Linked DNA regions of Homo sapiens: region 2 is linked to region 1. Evidence: promoter capture Hi-C in 16 types of primary human blood cells and fetal thymus (Javierre and others, 2016). All regions are on one chromosome and are shown on one strand. Each heading gives the region's core, a stretch centred on a gene start or on the middle of the fragment in contact. The rest is flanking DNA. Distances are from core to core; before and after follow the strand shown.

The links. Contacts are between HindIII fragments. The CHiCAGO score rates a contact against its expected background, and 5 or more counts as called.
Region 2: a fragment that was not itself captured here is called in contact with the fragment with the promoter of PLA2G12A in region 1 in 1 of 17 cell types (monocytes); the score reaches 5.0 in monocytes.

The regions. Positions count from the first base shown.
Region 1 is chr4:109,725,942-109,732,212 of GRCh38, reverse strand. It overlaps PLA2G12A (phospholipase A2 group XIIA), which reads left to right and starts at 2,143. Exons shown (of 4, transcript NM_030821.5): 1 at 2,143-2,611. The coding sequence starts at 2,404. It also overlaps a transcript of CFI not described here. RefSeq lists enhancers at 1,149-2,025, 2,685-2,754 and a silencer at 2,015-2,354. The HindIII fragment of the contact is 6,805 bases long and covers 1,758-6,271 here.
Region 2 is chr4:110,533,742-110,540,433 of GRCh38, reverse strand. All of the region lies in intron 11 of ENPEP (glutamyl aminopeptidase), which reads right to left. Among named protein-coding and RNA genes, the nearest start is that of ENPEP, 61 kb to the right of the region's middle. The HindIII fragment of the contact is 625 bases long and covers 4,972-5,596 here.

The DNA of each region.
Region 1 (6,271 bases), core at 894-3,393:
GATTCCTCAGAGTATAGGCTGTAGTTAAGGTGTAAGAAATTAGATGAGATCACAAAGAAGTAAATAAATAGAGAAAGTGGGGGAAAGGAGAGGCTTTGGGTCATAACTGAGGGCTGGAACTAGGTTATTTTATTACATTCTATCCTTTCTTTTGAAAGTCTTGTCCCTGGACTAGGGAGTTGTAAGAACCAAGCCTGGTTTAAGGATTCAGGTGGTGGTATCTCAGAGGTAATCTAGTCCAACTTTCATACTTTGGAGCTGAGAAACCAATGTTCCAGAAAGCTAAGACAATGATTCTAAGTTCCCTTTTTAAAATGTATTGAAATGTGTTGTCTAAAAATTAAAAAATAAAAATATCTGTGGTATTTTGTGAAGACAGAGGCCTTGGTTTGGAGTAGATACTGTCACATGACTTCTCACCTCGACTCTTTTATTGTAAAAGAGGAAGATAATAATACCTTCCAGGGAACATTCTTCCCCCTTCTCCATTGTGGTAGGAATTAATCACTGCCCAAGACTCCTGGTTGAGGGGCTGAGTGAAGTGCAGGCAGTCTCCAGCCAGGAGCTACACCGTTTGTTGGGCTACCCTGTTTGTAGGGAGGAATGCCTTTCTATGTTTCTAACTTGCCCAAAGTCTGCATCCTTGTAAAGTAGTGTTCTGAATGTGAGCGATCATATTCATGAAGTGCCTGGCACATAGTAAGCACTCAATAAAGAGGGATGTAATTTTTATGAACTGTGCACTGAACGTTTATTATAAGCTCATTTAGTTTGTAACAAACACAAAAGGCCAAACCTAGAACTTATTGGTAATTCTTATAGAAAGGACACACCTATGCCCAATACTTACTCACTTTCTTTTTTTTTTAGAGTCTCGCTCTGTGCCCCAAGCTGGAGTGCAGTGGTGCAATCTCAGCTCACTGCAACATCCATCCACCTCCTGGGTTCAAGTGATTCTCCTGCCTCCGCCTCCCGAGTAGCTGGGATTACAGGTGCCCGCCACCACGCCCAGCTAATTTTCTGTATTTTTGGTAGAGATGGGGTTTCACCATGTCAGCCAGGCTGGTCTCGAACTTCTGACCTCAGGAGTTCCAGGCCTCCCAAGGTGCTGGGATTACAGGCGTAAACCACCGCGCTTGGTCTGCCCAATACTTTCAACATTGCTCTGGATCTTACTGTAAAATTCTTGGAAACTGCTGTGATACTAAGATAACCAGATATTTACAACTGATACAAAGTACTACTGCAATAGTTATTTATGGATCCCGCACAATGCTGGGGGCAGGGTGGTAGGTACAGAGAAACAAACGTCACTGTAACTATCAAGTTACAAAATCCCTTGAGTAGAAAAACAATGACTTCCTTAAGATTTATTTTACTTTTTACTGTATTTAAGTTTACACTACTGTTTCTTCCTTACCAGGGGAGAATTTTATGATTTTTATGTTGGCCCATTTTCTTTTTCCGGAAAGTCTAAACTAGCATTTAGCTCGTCCTGATTAGAGTCAGGCACCGCCAAGGCATGGGTTGGCATCTTCCAGATCCCGCTCCCCCAACCGCGGCCACAGCAGATCTGGAGGACCGGGAGAGGACGCAAGGAGGAAAAGCCCTGCTCTGCGAGCTGACAGCCGGACTCTGCCCACATTGCCAATGGAACCACGTCTTCAAGCCGGAAACTCAGCTGGACCTCTCGCAGCGCTCTCTGCGAGGGGGCACAGGGGTTATTTTCTCCGATGTTGTCCACACCCAGAAAAGCTTGTCTCTCGGGGCTACTGTGCTGAGCCCCGACTGGTCAGGTTAGGCCACCGGGGTTAGCTCTGCAACTCTTGCTTCACGGTTAACAGCCCGGAGAGCTTTCTTAAAAAATACCGACGCCCACTGCCACCTGGGACAACGTAATCAGGCTCCCTAGAAAAGGGGCTCAGGCCTGGGTACTTTTTAAGGTTCTCTTGTGAACCAGGACCAAGGGTCTTGGGAGGGTGCCGCGGAGACCACGTGGGCATGGAGGCCCCGCCCCCGTTTCCCGCCCCGCGCGCCCCTCCCCCGGTTCCCCGCCCCCCCCAACCCCGCCCCCGCCCCGCCCCACCCCTGCGCGTCCCGCCCCTCCCGTGCGCCGCTGACGCGCCGTGCTCCGGCGCAGGCGCACAGGGGACGGTTGCTGGCCCAGGTGAGCGGGCGCGCTGGTCCAGGTGAGCGGGCGCGTCCCCGCGACGGCGCTGCCTGCCCGAGGCGGTTCACGTAAAGACAGCGAGATCCTGAGGGCCAGCCGGGAAGGAGGCGTGGATATGGAGCTGGCTGCTGCCAAGTCCGGGGCCCGCGCCGCTGCCTAGCGCGTCCTGGGGACTCTGTGGGGACGCGCCCCGCGCCGCGGCTCGGGGACCCGTAGAGCCCGGCGCTGCGCGCATGGCCCTGCTCTCGCGCCCCGCGCTCACCCTCCTGCTCCTCCTCATGGCCGCTGTTGTCAGGTGCCAGGAGCAGGCCCAGACCACCGACTGGAGAGCCACCCTGAAGACCATCCGGAACGGCGTTCATAAGATAGACACGTACCTGAACGCCGCCTTGGACCTCCTGGGAGGCGAGGACGGTCTCTGCCAGTATAAATGCAGTGACGGTGAGGGGGCACCCGGGCCCAGCGAGGGCTCGTGCTTTCGGGGGATTGGGGTGACGGAGATCCTGGAGGTGTGAGTGACAGATGCAAGGCAGACCTTGACGGTGTCCTTCGGCTGTGGAAAAACTTAACCACTGCTAGAATCTTGCCGTTCTAGTGATTGAGCAAGCTGGGTACAAGTTCGCACCACTATTGTTAGAATGTGAGAGGTCACATTCTAACGGAGAGGTGTACCCCCCGTCCCATTTGCATTGCTTCTGAATTACCTTTTCCCCCCCTCAATTGCACCAAGTTGCCGAAGAACTTACTGACGTAGGAATCATGGGAATAGAGTGGAACAGACTGGTTTTAGCTCATTTTTGCTTCTGTAAATTGGATGAACATGCGAAGCAAACTGAGAATTTAAAAACCATGCCGTATTAACTTTCTCTATAATTGATATTAAATGGTTTTTTTTCTGCAAACCCATAGACAATAACTTGCGACCTTTGTACAGACTTTTGGTGTACTCGAGTGTTGAGAAAGGGTTCCGATAACTCTTCTTTCCTTAGATATCAGTGACCCGCCTCCTCCTCATTGTTGGTTAACGTTAATACAGTTATCTTCATTTACTCTTTTAATATTTTTTGAACTTTCTCTTTGAACCTGAGAATTTGTTTGGTGGCGGTATGAGTACTAATCAACTCAGTATTTCAGGCAGAGATAGTTCTTTTGTAGCACATTTTTGAGTGCTTAAATATTTTAATAGGTCAGAAAAATATTGGACTTTTGTTTGGAAATTGAAAATGTTAAGAGAGCAGTTGGGAGATCATGTTTCCAATAAGATTAGCCAAGGTTAGAGTCTCATTATGCTGGCAGCGGAAAATAATCGGGGATCCAGTGACTTCATTGTTGGAACCTGATTGTATAGGTGAACTTAAAAGGAACTGGTATCATGTAAACCTATGATGCCACATGCTGCCTGCAATTTTCAAGATAATTTCTAGTTTTATGTTAATAGAAGTAAAGGATGAACTGTATCTTGTATACTTTAAAGCGCTGAACAGGTGCTGAGACATGTTGCATTGCTTCTTAAATTTGTGCCTAAACGTTACCACCTAAACGTATGCTTCATGAAGATGTTTTTATTCTTGTAGAACTTGTTCGGAGGATTAAGTGCATAATTTAAGGATCAAATAGTTGCCTTTCCTAAAGCAAATGTTACAGTTTTACTTAGTCATTCCTATTCATTATACAAATATTTGAGTCCCAACTGTGCTTCAGATGTTGTTCTAATTTGAGATTCAGCAGTTAATAAAACAGACAAAAATCTCTGTCCGTGGAGCTTGAGTTCTGGTGAGGGAGAGATGGGCAGTAAACTAGTAAATAAGTAAAATTAGGGGAAGTGTGGAGTCTGATCAGGGCAGACGAGGGGCCATGTTGGAGGCAATTTACTCTTCTAAATGGGTTGTTCAGCAAAGGCCTCACTGATGAAAGAATATTTGAGAAGAAATCTGCACGTGGTAAGGGGAGGGAATGTGGTTATTTGGAGAAACAGCATTCCAGACAGAGGGAATAGCAAGTGCAATGGACCTGAGGAGAAAGGCCAGTCAAGGATGACTCTGAAGGTTTTGGCCTGAGCCAAAGGAAGGAAACGGTTGCCATTTACAGAGATAGGGAAGACTTGGAAGGAGTCGTCTTCATAAATTTATTAGTCTAGGGTTCTAGAGTTTATTTACATTTAAAACATGCCTGAAGTTGAATGAATACCAGCCTTGTTAAAATACTGTTTTAGTCTTTTTATTTTATTTTTTGTTAATATTTTTGAGGCAAGGTCTCCCTCTGTGCCCAGGCTAGAGGGCAGTGGTGTGATCATTGCTCCCTGCAGCCTCCAACTCCTGGGCTCAAGCAATTCTCCTGCCTCAGCTTCCCAAATAGCTAGGACTATAGGCCATGCCCCCACTACACCTGGCTTAATCTTTCTTTTTAATCTTTTTCATCTTCTACAGGCTTCTCAAAATTTACTATTTGGAGTTTAGAGGAAGGTCTCTGGCACAAAAAAACACAAAGGAATTTGAGAATTTAAGAAATGTTATATGCCTCAGTGAAAAAAAATTTTTTGTCTTAGTAAGTACTCTACGTTTAACGGACATGTGGTTTCAAGTCCAAGTCACCATACTGATAGATAATTGGATCTCAATGAAAAAAAAAATTAGGCAGGACGTAATGGCTCATGCCTGTAATCCCAGCACTTTGGGAGGCTGAGGCGGGCGGATCAGTTGAGCTCAGGAGTTCGAGACCAGCCTGGCCAACATGGTGAAACCCCGTCTCTACTAAAAATACAAAAATTAGCTGGGCATGGTGGTGCACACCTGTAGTCCCAGCTACTTGGGAGGCTGAGGTAGGAGAATAGCTTGAACCTGGGAGGTGGAGGTTGCAGTGAGCCGAGACCGTGCCTCCAGCCTGGGTGACAGAGCAAGACTCTGTCTCAAAAATAATAATAATAATAATAATAATAAAATTGCTGTTACTCGAGCAGTCTCTCTGGAACAATTCAACCTTTCCTATATTTTGGAATTCAGGTGACCAAATCAGAACCAAACAGAACAATCCCAAATCTGGAGAAACATGGTGATTAAGGGGTATTTTTAGTTGCACGAAAGAGATCAAGAGAGCTTTAAAAAAAAAAAAAAAGAGTGAGTTAATGGTAGGGAGAGGTTGGTCAAATAAAGGGCACATGTCCTTGCTTTACCTGAGGGACTGGCATTATGGAGACTTGCTCCCTTAGTTTTGGCCATCCTCTCTTGGGTAGGAAAAAGGCCTTATTGAGAGTTAAGTATTTAGGGAAATAAATTTGATGATCCGTTATTTTCTTCAACTTTTTTCTCCCTGACAGCAAGGAAGATTTAAGGAAGAAAACTTTTCGATTTCCTTTGAAAAATAGAACACAAAACTGGCTTGTAAATGTTTTTAGAATGATGAATAAGTCATTAATTAATTCAGTGACGTATGTTTTCTAGGATCCCTCTGGCTGTTGTGCTGAGAACAGAAGGGGTCAAGGGAGTGGGGGAGTAAAAATGGAAGCAGGGTGACGCATGCAGGAGTCCAGACAAAAGACGGGTGATTTTGCTCAGGTTGGTAGCAACAGAGGTAATGAGAAGTAGTTGGATTTTGGATATATTTTGAAGGAAGGACCTAAAAGATTTGCTGATGGCTTAGAAGTTAGGTATGAGTTAAGTCAAAAATGATACCACAGTTTTTGGCCTGAACAACTGGAAGGACAGAATTACCATTAACTGATATGGGGAAGACCGTGGAAAGAACAGTTTTCGGGCATTAGGAAAAATAATAACACATTTGTATGCTTTTGAGAATGGTTCAGTGGAGAGTAGAAATACTGACGAGGGAGAGAATTATTGGAGTCATAGCCTTGGGTAAGTGAGAGGGGGTAGTTTCTAGTACATACTTAGAGAGTTTGGCCAAGAGCATATAGCATAGCCCTGTTAATAGGAACACAGGTAGAGGATATGAGCACTGGTGCTGGTTAAGTGGGTGGATGTTCAAGTTCTCCTGATTGCCTGCTTTTTTCAGTAAAGTAGGAATCCAGGTCATCAGCTGACAGAGAAGATGGGGAATGGGGATGTTGGAGATTTGAGGAAAATATAAAAGTGAACAGACTAGAAA
Region 2 (6,692 bases), core at 4,035-6,534, 810 kb before region 1:
ATTTACTATTTTTTTTCTGATTATAACAATAGTATGTATTCTTTATGGAGCACTTGGAAAATGCAAAAAAGTATAAAGAAGAATATAAAAATTACCCACCACAGTTAACATGTTTTTTACCTGTTGTGTGTGTGTGTGTATCTTCTATATGCACACATGCACAAACACACAACAAATATAATGGGACCCTACTGTTTTTATGATTAGCAATCCTTTTTCATTTGAAATTATATTTTAAACACCTTGCAATTTCATTTTATATATTTGGAAATCTAAGTTTAATGGACATATCATGCTGTATCAACTTAAAAATTGTTTTATTCTGTTTCTTATTAGTTCTATCTATGCCAAAAAGTATTGAATGAGTTATTTCTGAGTAGGAGCTCTTTCTAGAAAATTCTTACTTTTTTCTTTTATTATTTGCCTAGATGATAGAGAAAAGCGATAATTACCTTTTCAAAATTTCATCGAGAGCCTCTTTAATTTCAACCCTGATAGATTTCAGTAACAGAGCACAGGTAACAGTTCTTTAATGTTACTATCTATTATAAATAATTATAAAAAATTTTAGACAAGTAGACAGCTTATGATAGCCTGAGATTCCTAGAGAAAAAAACATTTTTCTTAGGTGATGATATGAATGCTGTGTTGCACTAATCCTTTAAGTGAATTATTTTTCAATGTAAAATTACAGAGTTTACCTCTTATTAAATTTTGTGTATCATTTGATAGTAAAAGAGCTGAGGCCGGGCACGGTGACTCACACTTGTAATCCCAGCACTTTGGGAGGCCAAGATAGGAGGACTGCTTGAGACCAGTTTGAGACCAGCCTGGTCAACATAGCAAGACCCCCATCTCAATTTATTTAAGAAAGCAAAAAAAACAACTGAAAGACACGAGTAATGCTTTTTAACTAATGACATGCAAAATATATTTGAAGAGCTAAAAGTTTCAAGTAGAATGCATTATTAGACTTTGGGGTCATAGAAGAAAATTTTAATTTCTGAAACTAAAGCTAACATGATCCATAATAAAATGGATTGGTTATCCATTTATGGTAATGCTTTCAACAAATTACCCATTCAAGAAAGTATTAGTCATTGTTTTAGTAATAATTACAGGGTCCATTCTAAATCTCAGCAAGTGGCCTAGAGAATCTGCCTGTAAAGAAAGGTGTACAAGCATACCTTACTTTATTGCGCTAGAGAGAAGTCACTTTATTGCACTTTGCAGATACTGCATTTTTTACAAATTGAAGGTTTGTAGCAAAGCCAGTCTATCAGCACCATTTTTCGAACAACATGTGCTCACTTCATGTCTCTAGGTTACATTTTGATCATTCTTGCAATATTTCAAACTTTTTCATTATTATTATATCTGTTAGGGTGATCTGTGATCAGAGATTTTTGATTTTACTATTGCAATTGTTTTGGGGAGCCACGAACCACACCCATATAGGTGAGAACTTAATCGGTAAGTGTTGTGTGTGTTATGACTGCTCCACCAGCTGGCCATTCCCCTGTCTCTCTTTTTATCTTTCTCTTTCTCTCTCTCTCTCTCTCTTTCTCTCTCCTTCCCCTTGGGACTCCCTATTCTTTTAGACACAGCCATATCGATATTAGCCCAATCAATCATTCTTCAATGGCCTCAAGTGTTCAGATGAAAGTAAGAGTTAAACATCTCTCACTTTAAATTAAAATATAGAAATGATTAAGCTTAGTAAGGTAAGTATGTCAAAAGCTGAGACAGGCTGAAAGCCAGGCCTCTTGTACCACACAGTTAGCCAAGTTCTAAACATAAAGAAAAAGTCCTTGAAGGAAATTAAAAGTCCTACTCCAGTGAACACATGAATGATAAGAAAGAGAAACATCTGTATTGCTGATATGGAGAAAGTTCTAGCTCTCCGGATAGATGGCCAAACTAACCACAACATTCCCTTAATCCAAAGCCTAATCCAGAGAAGGACCCTAACTCTCTTCAATTCTGTGAAGCCTGAGAGAGGTGAGGAAGCTACAGAAGAAAAGCTGGAAGCTAGCAAAGGTTGGTTCTTGAGGTTTAAGGAAAGAAGCCATCTCCAAACATAAAAGTTCAAGGTGAAGCAGCAAGTGTTGATATAGAAGTTAAAGCAAGTTAATAAGAAGATCTAACTAAGATCATTTTTGAAGGCAGCTACACTAAAAAACATTTTCAGTGTAGATGAAACAGCTTTATATTAGAAGAAGATGCCATCAAGGACTTTCACAGCTAGAGAGAAGTCAATGCCTGGCTTTAAATCTTCAAAGGACAGGTTGACTCTCTCATTAGGGGTGGATGCAGCTGGTAACTTTAAATTAAAGCCAATACTCATTTACCATTCCAAAAATCCTAAGGCCCTTAAGAATTATGCTAAATCTACTCTGCATGTGCTCTATAAATGGAACAACAAAGCCTGGGTGACGGCACGTCTGTTAATAGAATGGTTTACTGAATATTTTATGCCCATTGTTGAGACCTGCTGCTCACCAAAAAAGATTCCTTTCAAAATAGTACTGCTTATTGACAGTGTGCCTGGTCATCCATGAGCTCTTATGGAAATGTACAAGCAGATTAATGTTTTCACAGCTGCTAACACAGTATCTATTCTGAAGCCCATGGATCAAGGAATGACTTTCAAGTCTTGTTATTTAAGAAATACATTTTGTAAGGTGATAGCTGTCATAGATAATGATTCCTTTGATGGATCTGGACAAGGTACATTAGAAACCTTCTGGAAAGCATTCACCATTCTAGAAGCCATTAAGAACATTCATGATTCATAAGAGGAGGTCAAAATATCAACATTAACAGGAGTTTGGAAGAAATTGATTGCAACCGTCAGGAATGACTTTGAGGTGTTCAAGACCTATATGGAGGATGTAACTGCAGAGTGGTGAAAATAGCAAGAGAGCTAGAATTAGAAGTGAACCCTGAAGATGTATCTGAATTGTTGCTATCTCATGATAAAACTTGAATAGGTGAGGAGTTGCTTCTTATGGGTGAGCAAAGAAAGCGGTTTCTTGAGATGGAATCTACTCCTGGTGAAGATGCTGTGAGCATCTTGAAATGACAAAAAAGGATTAAAAATATTCCATAAACTTAATTGAGAAAGCAGCACCAGGGTTTTGGAGAAGTTCTACTGTGGGTAAAATTCTATTAAACAGCATCGCATGCTTCAAAGAAACCTTTTGTGAAAGGAAGGGTCAATTAATGCACCAAACTTCAGTGTTGTCTTATTTTAAGAAATTGCCACAGCCACCCAAGTCTTTAGCAACCACCACCCTAATTAGCTAGCAGCCATCAACACTGAGGCAAGACCCTTTATCAGTAAAAAAGATTACAACTCGCTGAAGACTTAGATGATTGTTAGCATTTTTAGCAATAAATTATTTTAGTTAACATATATACTTTTTTACACATAAGGCAATTGCACACTTAGTAGACTGCAGTATAGTGTAAACATCACTTGTATATGCACTGGGAAACCAAAAAACTCATGGACTCACTTAATTGTGATATTTGCTTTATTGCGTGGCTTGGCACCAAAACTGCAGTATCTCTCAGGTATGCCTGTGGCTTTAATATGTAACATGCAATGAATAGGAAACTGGAAAAATGCAACCCAATTATCATGAGGAAAGATTACAATTAGCAATAATTTTGGTAGTTGAAAAAAAATAACTGCAAAGGAGAGTTGGGTAGTGAAGATCTGTCAATGTGTCTCCAGTGTGCCCATGGAAGTAGGTGCCAAATTGAGCTGGAACATGTGTTTCAGGCTATTTGACAGGTCTGGTCCTACAGAAAACAGTGTATGTGACAGAGACCTACTAGTTGTTTACCACACAGTTCCCTTTTCTTCCTGGGTACAGAATTGGACTATGTTAGCCTTCCTTGCAGGACATGATTTGAGAACTGGCTATAAAATGTGGGCAGAAGTAATAGATGCACTTCTAGGCCTGATTCCTTCATTATCTTCCCCTGTCTTTGAGCTAGATGCAAAAGAACCAGTGAGGGATTCCAAGATGCAGGGGATGGTAAAGCCATAAGAAGGAAGAAGACAGGATTTCCAAGTCATTATTTGGTGGAGAGCCACCTAGGAAAGATGACAGTCAGGAATATCTCCTTTAGACTGTTGCATGAACAAGAAACTTTTATTGCACCAAACCACTATTGATTGTTTCTAAAGTGCAATAATTAGACTCACCTGGCTAATGCAATATATCACACTATCACAATTTAAAGACATCTGTAAAATAATTAATCTACCTTAACTCTTCCTTAATTCTTTTTTTTTTTTTTTTTTTTTTTTTTGAGACAGAGTTTCACTCTTGTTGCCCAAGTTGGAGTGCAATGGTGCAATCTCGGCTCACTACAACCTCCGCCTCCCGGGTTCAAGCAATTCTCCTGCTTCAGCCTCCCGAGTAGCTGGCATTACAGGCAGCTATGTATAAAAAAGTATATATGTTAACTAAAATAATTTATTACTAAAAATGCTAACAATCATCTGAGCCTTCAGCCAGTTGTAATCTTTTTTACTGATAGAGGGTCTTGCCTCAGTGTTGATGGCTATGCCTGGCTAACTTTGTATTTTTTCAGTAGAGACGGTGTTTCTCTATGTTGGTCAGGCTGGTCTCGAACTCCCGACCTCAGGCGATCCACCTGCCTTGGCCTCCCAAAGTGTTGGGATTACAGGCGTGAGCCACCGCGCCCAGCCCTTTAATTCTTACTAAGTAACTTGCTTCCTGGAAAGAGATACCTAATTAGGTGACATGAGTATTCAGATTCACTAACTAGTATATTTTAACTGTGTAAATTAACAAGTTAGCATTCTTAGTTAATCTCTTGTATGTTTGGTTTAGATAAGTAGATCTTCCAAGACTTGGTTGACTAGGGCTGAACTGACAAATTGAGTTTCTAAACCAGCAAAACTGAACCCATAATCATCCAATCAAAGCTTGCACATTCCATGAGGCTTAGCTTGAAAAAATGAAGAAAGTGCTTCCCTCTTTGTCATCAAATACAAAAATACATGCCCATCATTATTTTGGTATTAAATATTTATGTATAATTATCACAGATGTTTAGTAAATCTATTTCTATAGAAACTGACTGGACAGTCTGGATAGTCCAAACCATCCAGAGGACACCCTCAAATCTGGAAGTAAGAGTTGCAAAAACAGCTATTGTAGAGTCCGCACCACCTCCTAGAACTTAGACCCAGCCCAGATCCTATGCACTTAGAAATGTCTCTTTTAAAATATTATGTTTTAGCAAGATTGGTTACCTGACACCATATAACAACCTTCAATCCTTCTAAATGTTAGAAAGCAGTAAATTAAATGCAAACAGGTGGTATGCTACTAAATGTGGATGCATTAACAATAGCCAAAATAGCAGCTGATACTAAAAGATGGAGACATAACTAAAATATATGCAGTTAACCTCTAAAAGTACAGCATTCTGGGGCAAACAACCCTTCATTAAACTAGGACTTTCTGAACTCAGAATGTACGTAGCACCTTGTTGATAATAGGGTGGACAGGAGACAAGAAATATGTGTAGTTTGTGTCATCAAGAAGCTTATAATTTAGTTGAGAAAAAAAAAAGAGAGGCCAGGCGCGGTGGCTCATGCCTATAATCCCAGCACTTTGGGAGGCTGAGGCAGGTAGATCACCTGAGGTCTGGAGTTCAAGACCAGCCTGGCCAACATTGTGAAACCCCATCCTTACTAAAAATACAAAAAAATATCCAGCTGAGGTGGCAGGCACCTGTAATCCCAGCTACATGGGAGGCTGAGGCAGGAGAATCACTTGAACCCAGGGGGCGGACGTTGCAATGAGCTGAGATCGCTCCACTGCACTCCGGCCTGGGCAACAAGAACAAAACTCTGTCCCAAAAAAAAAAAAAAAAAAAAGAAACAACGAAAAGAGAGAACATATGAAGCTTAATAACAATGATTTTGTTTAAAATATAAAGTAATAATACTAGGAATAAGGGCTGATGAAAGTGACAGGATAAAATATACTATATTTTATGACAGGAGATGATGACAGGAGAGATTATTCAGGGTAACTGGAGTAGCCAGAAAATGTTTTATAATAGAGGTTCTCTTCTTTCATTAGAAATTATGAGTTTAGTTGTTGTTTTAACGCCTAAAATAGCACATACAATAGAAATGTAAATAAAAGACCTTGGGGAGAGTCCCACTATTGCCTGAAGAATTTCTAACTAATGAATCATCAAAGAAACCAAGAGGAGGGAGGTAGGACTGGTAACATGAGCTGGTTGCCCATTTAGTACACTCAGGACATGTTCGTCATCCGTGCTCTAAGCTGAGAGCTGAAGATGTCCTTAAACAGGAAACAGGAACTTATTGTACAGCCTAAAAATGGAGCAGACACTTTGAAGTAGAAAAAGACCTCTAGTTTGCTTCTGGCTCAGTGACCAGACATGATTCTGAAGTTTCAGATAAAGGCAGATTTGTCATCAAAGCTCTGTAACTATCAGCCTCTTCATTTATTTGTTTATTCATTCATTTATTCAATAAACAATTATTAGATGCCTGCTGTAGATCCAGAACAACAATAACAAATAAGCTCCATTTCCTCTAAGAATATTCTGTGGGGAGGGGAGACATAGATAGGTCAATAGTTAGAACAAAAAAATGTGTGAAATGT